Regions from separate parts of the Homo sapiens genome. Here region 1 is linked to region 2. Evidence: promoter capture Hi-C in 16 types of primary human blood cells and fetal thymus (Javierre and others, 2016). All regions are on one chromosome and are shown on one strand. Each heading gives the region's core, a stretch centred on a gene start or on the middle of the fragment in contact. The rest is flanking DNA. Distances are from core to core; before and after follow the strand shown.

Evidence for each region. Contacts are between HindIII fragments. The CHiCAGO score rates a contact against its expected background, and 5 or more counts as called.
Region 1: a fragment that was not itself captured here is called in contact with the fragment with the promoter of OTUD7B in region 2 in 6 of 17 cell types (M2 macrophages, M0 macrophages, monocytes and 3 more); the score reaches 6.0 in M2 macrophages.

What each region holds. Positions count from the first base shown.
Region 1 is chr1:150,209,368-150,212,116 of GRCh38, forward strand. It overlaps the pseudogene RN7SL480P. Among named protein-coding and RNA genes, the nearest start is that of ANP32E, 25 kb to the right of the region's middle. The HindIII fragment of the contact is 5,688 bases long and covers 1-2,749 here.
Region 2 is chr1:150,009,456-150,012,155 of GRCh38, forward strand. It overlaps OTUD7B (OTU deubiquitinase 7B), which reads right to left and starts at 1,271. Exons shown (of 12, transcript NM_020205.4): 1 at 993-1,271. RefSeq lists enhancers at 16-898, 263-312 and silencers at 833-1,122, 1,383-1,432. The HindIII fragment of the contact is 17,924 bases long and covers 578-2,700 here.

The DNA of each region.
Region 1 (2,749 bases), core at 13-2,512, 200 kb after region 2:
CAACATGGTGAGATCCTATCTTTATAAAAAGAAAAAAAAGAAGAAGAAAGTAACTAAATAAAAATAAAACTCTGTTAAAAAAAAAAAGAAAGAAAGAAAAGTGGCTATCTGAATTGAGATTTGCTGTAAGCATAAAATCCATCCCAGATTTGGAAGACTTTGCATGAAAAAAATACAAAACATCTTACTAATGATTTTTTACATTGATTACATGTAGAAAGTATAATATTTTGAATATGTTGGGTTAATTAAAATACATTAAAATTAATTTTACCTGTTTCTTTTTAGTTTTTTAAATATGTCTACTAGAAAATTCTAAATACATCTGTGACTTGCATTTTTATTTTATTTATTTATTTATTTCTTGAGACAGAGTCTCATTCTGTCACCCAGGCTGGAGTAGAGTGGCTCGATCTTGGCTTACTGCAGCCTCTGCCTCCCAGGCACAAACAATTCTCCTACCTCAGCCTCCCGAGTAACTGGGATTACAGACACCCACCACCATGCCTGGCTAATTTTTGTGTTTTTAGTAGAGACAGGGTTTCACCATGTTGGCCAGGCTGGTCTCCAACTCCTGACCTCAGGTGATCCACCCGCCTTGGCCTCCCAAAGTGCTGGGATTATAGGTGAGAGCCACCGCACTCCACCAACTTGCATTTTTGACAGAATTATATGTCTATTAAAGAGCGCCAATTTAGAACACTGAACAATAATACCATAAACAATGTAAATATACATTCTCCCTGTAAATTAATAAATTGACAACTTGATTTAGAAATCTGACTTTGGTGAATTTTCACGGCACAAGTCTGTCCCTCACATATTGATCGATTTTGTATTTACAAACTCAAATACATCTCCTTCTATAGCCCTGCAAAATGAAGGATCACGCCTTCACTGAAGTGAGCAAATCAAAGTTTTGGCATCTTCTGAGCTTTCTGGGCACAAGCTGTCAGCTCAGCCATTTCTCTGCCTGCAATTTCGCTCTTGGTTTATAATCTTGGGTTTAGGCTGTTTTTCAAGGGATAGAGTTGGTATCATTCATATTTGTTTTCCTATCACTTATGTTCCTTAAACAAAGGATTTTAAAAGTTTGTTAAATATTCTACATTTTATGCCTTTGATCATAGCTGTAAGACTGCTTGCCTTGAAAAGGATTTGCACATAATTCTCCATGGTTTTTTTCTTAATATGTTAATTGCAAACCGCTTGTAAAGATTGAGTACATGAAGATCTGAAAGACAGCAGTTATTTACAGTCATGTAAAGTAAAAATGGCAAGTGATATCTAATTAATAGCTAATAACCTAATAATATGGAGTGGAAACTTGATAACCATTACAGCACACTGTATTTTATTATCAAGGACAGAGCCTTAGAGACAGACCACAGAATTGATGTTTCATCATTATGCGATGGCCTACATTATATGACCTCTTATTTGTCCCTCAACTCCAATAGCAACCTCAAGGCTGATATAGAATAGCAGTGGAAAGGAAAATAAATGACACAAAAAGAAAAGTAGGTTTATCATGGGACCAATGTAGTGCTTTGGCCTCATAGCAGAGACCAGATGGTAGCAGCTCCTCTCTCAGCAGGTAGCTCTTCAATATCCTACGGGTTGTAAACAACAAATTCACATCATCTCCACCTGCTAATAAGTATTTTTTAAAATATTGCGGCAACATCGAAACAATGCTGAAAATACAATCCCTCAATATAAGAAAAAAAGTTTTCCTAAATATTTAGTCTGTTAAAAGAAAAAGTCTTTTCTGAGAAATGCTATTACCCACTAGAAAATCTTGGCTTCTTAAAATCCAAGAATATTCTCATCTCTTTTTTTTTTTTTTTTCTTTTTTTGAGACAGAGTCTCACTCTGTTGCCCAGGCCAGAGTGCAGTGGCGCGATCTTGGCTCACTGCAAGCTCCACCTCCCAGGTTCAAGCGATTCTCCTGCCTCAGCCTCCTGAGTAGCTGGGATTACAGGCACGTGCCACCATGCCCGGCTAATTTTTGTATTTTTTAGTAGAGACGAGGTTTCACCATATTGGCCAGGCTGCTCTCCAACTCCTGACCTTGTGATCCACCTGCCTCGGCGTCCCAAAGTGTTGGGATTACAGGCGTGAGCCACAGCGCTCGGCCTCTTTTTTTTAAATAAAGTAAATGGCCCTCATTTTACCCAATTTTGTGACTTTGTAAAAGCCAATGAAAATGCCTGAGAAACTACTGACATTAGTTTTACTGCAGTTAAATATTTGTTAACTTTGCCAGGCGCGGTGTCCCGTGCCTGTAGTCCCAGCTACTTGGGAGGCTGAGGCAGGAGACGGCTTGAGCCCAGGAGTTCTGGGCTGTAGTGTGCTATACCGATCGCGTGTCCGCACTAAGTTCGGCACCAATATGGTGACCTCCCAGGAACAGGGGACCACGAGGTTGCCTAAGGGGAGGGGTAAACTGGCCAAGGTCAGAAATAGAGCAGGTCAAAACTCCCGTGCGGATCAGTAGCAGGATCGTGCTTGTGAATAGCCACTGCACTCCACCCTGGGTAACAGACCCTGTCTCTCTAGATAGATAGATAGATAGATAGATAGATAGATAGATAGATAGATAGATAGAGCGTATATATATACATATGCTAATTCTATAGAAACATGTAACTGTCCTTTGACATTTTAATAAAAATTGTGTATACAAGATTTCAAATTTAATTATTCTCTTCTCCTTCCATAGGATCAAAGACATCTTTTGGTTGCA
Region 2 (2,700 bases), core at 21-2,520:
AGCATGTGAATTTCTAAGCAAAGCGTTACGTAGTACGTATAAAAAGATAAGGAAAATAAAAGTCAACGTCCTGCTAATTCTAGGCTTTGCATTCGTGAAAAGCTGCCTGAAAAGTTTGTGGGGAACTTCTTCCATAAAATTCCACCAGTCAGTTTCTAATTTCAAATTTTTACATCTTTATTGTGCCCAGAGAAGCCACCTAGGTTAGACAAGAAAGACTACCACGAGCGGGGAGAAAGAGACTCTGAGCGCTGGTCCTTGTGAGCCGACAAGCTAAAAATACGCCGGCCCAGTAAACAAATCCCATTCCATCCCGACCGGAGCCACACCGTTAACCTAGTAATTATGAGAAGAGTGAGATCACGCAGCCCCCGGCTTACTCATCATCAGCTTCTAAAGTTTCCATCGGCTCATGGCAACTTTTCTTTTTTCTAAAGTTCTTAAGACTGCCCTAGAATCCGTCAACCTCCGTCTCTCTCCCTCTCTCACACACACACACAAACACACACACACACCTTTTTCTCGCCTTTCCTCCATTACTGTATGCACCTTAGTTTGGCTATCAATAGGAAGAATAAGCTTATTTGCTTTTCATTTTAGTATTATATTGAGATTTTAAATGAACTTTATCCTACTGTGGGGATAATACACTGCATCTTAATCACCTTAAAACTCCACCATCCCTCCCGAAAGTCTAGCTGACAAGGGGGGACCGTCCAAACTGGCCAGCACAGCTCAGGAAGGGAGGCCGGGAGCTGGAGAGCGCGGGGTAGGAACGCAGGACGCAGGTGAAAGGGAGGAGGAAAGATCGGGACGAAGCAAGGAGCAGTCAGGGCGAGAAAGGAGTGCCGAGGGGAGATGGCTTCGGGTGAAACAGATTCAGAAAGGAGAAAGGGGACAGTGGCGATCTGAGGAGCAGAGTTTGCGAGTCTGAGAAGCCGGGAGGGGCGGGAGCAGACGGGGGACGGTGTCAGGACGGGGGGCTCCGTTACCCTCGCGGGCTCCCGGGGCAAGGCCCTAGGCCGGGGCGGAGCGCGGGGCCCGGCCGCCTCTCTTCATTCCTCGGCAGTGACCCCGGGGTCCGGCCGGCCCCTCCCCCGACGGCGATGGAGGTGGAGGCGGTGGTGGAGACTGCGACCGCAGCTGTTGCTCCGCACGGGATCTGGAGCTGGAGCCAGAAAGGACTGATCGGGACTGGCCTCCCCCAGTGGCTTTTTGCCCACTCCGCACCCGGTCGCCACTCCGGCTCCGGCGGCTGGTTCAGGATCGGTGGCTTTCTGCTGTCCGGCCGGAAACAGGCGCCAGTTTCCGGCCGGAGCGGGTTGGTGGTGACACCCAGGCCGCCCCCGGGCCTCCTCCCGCTCCGCCCCGTCGCAGCCCCGCCTTTAGCGCCGCTCCCCAGGCTGCGGCCAGTTTGGCGCTTGCCCCGCGCGTGACCCCGTGTTTTCCCGACCCGAGTCCCTAAAGCTCCTGGTCTGGAGCATTCTTGAACAGGAGTTGGAGGAGTACAGGGTGGACTCTTAGGACTCTGGGGTAGAATCAGTTGGCTACAGCCGTTGGGAAGGAGCTGAAAGGGGTGGAGTAGTTGTAGAAAGGTGAGAGAGATGAAAATACTTCAGAATGAAAAGACTGACATTCTAGTAACTCTACACAATCATTCTGGAGTGACCGGAGGAAGATTAGCTTCTTCCACACCAGTCTCCACCCAATTATATATTTCTCTTGTTCCTTCACTCTTGAAGTGAACATATCCTTCTCTGTAAACACTTAATATTTATTTACTTGCATAACAGTGATACCCTGTTGATACATCTGCTTTAGACTGCTAACAGTAAAAAAAACTTACATAGTGCGTTTGTTATGTCTTCTAGTGCGTTTGTTATGTCTTTTAAAACATTATGGCATAATTCAAATATGTATTGTATCCCTGTGATGTGTATCACTGCTCTCAGTGATACAGGGGGATACAAAAATTAACAAGACATAATCCCAGACATCAAAGGTTTTACAATTTAGTAAAATACATAAAACTATATTATATGTAGCAGAACTTGTATGTGTCCTACCTGAGTGACAATGAGCTATGGCTATGAGAACATAATAAGCCATCCTTGTCACATAGTAGACCTTCCATATTTGTTGAATGAATGAATAAGTATTAGGCCTGTGTGGACTGTTTCAAGAAAGAAAGGCCATTTAGTAAATACCTCTTTATGACAAACACAAAACGATGCCAACCCCGGCTATACTCTAACAAAAGACATTTGAAATTTTAATTCAGATTCCTAACATTATAGCACCTGGTCTGCATATTCAAAATAATGTATTGCCTAATTGTGCCCATTATGCCTATGTAAAAACAAATACTCTAGTCAACTTTTCTTTCCCCTCACTTCTTCCTCAGTTTCTAAAGGGGAGGCGTGGGGCATAGGCATTTTAGAATTGTCTAGCTCAGAATAGGAAACTGACACCTGAAACAGGGAAACTTCCTAGACAGCTATATCTCTTAGGGATACACCTGGGTTTACAATCGAAAATTTAGGGCTGGGCCCAAGGCTGTCCACACATGCTAAGGCCAAACAAGTCAGAGTGCCTTGCATGGGGGCATATCCAAGACATACAATAGAGGTTGACAAGTAAAGTCATTTGGCGTGGGCTTCAAGCGTATAAGGGACCACAAATTTTAGCTACCGTTTAGTG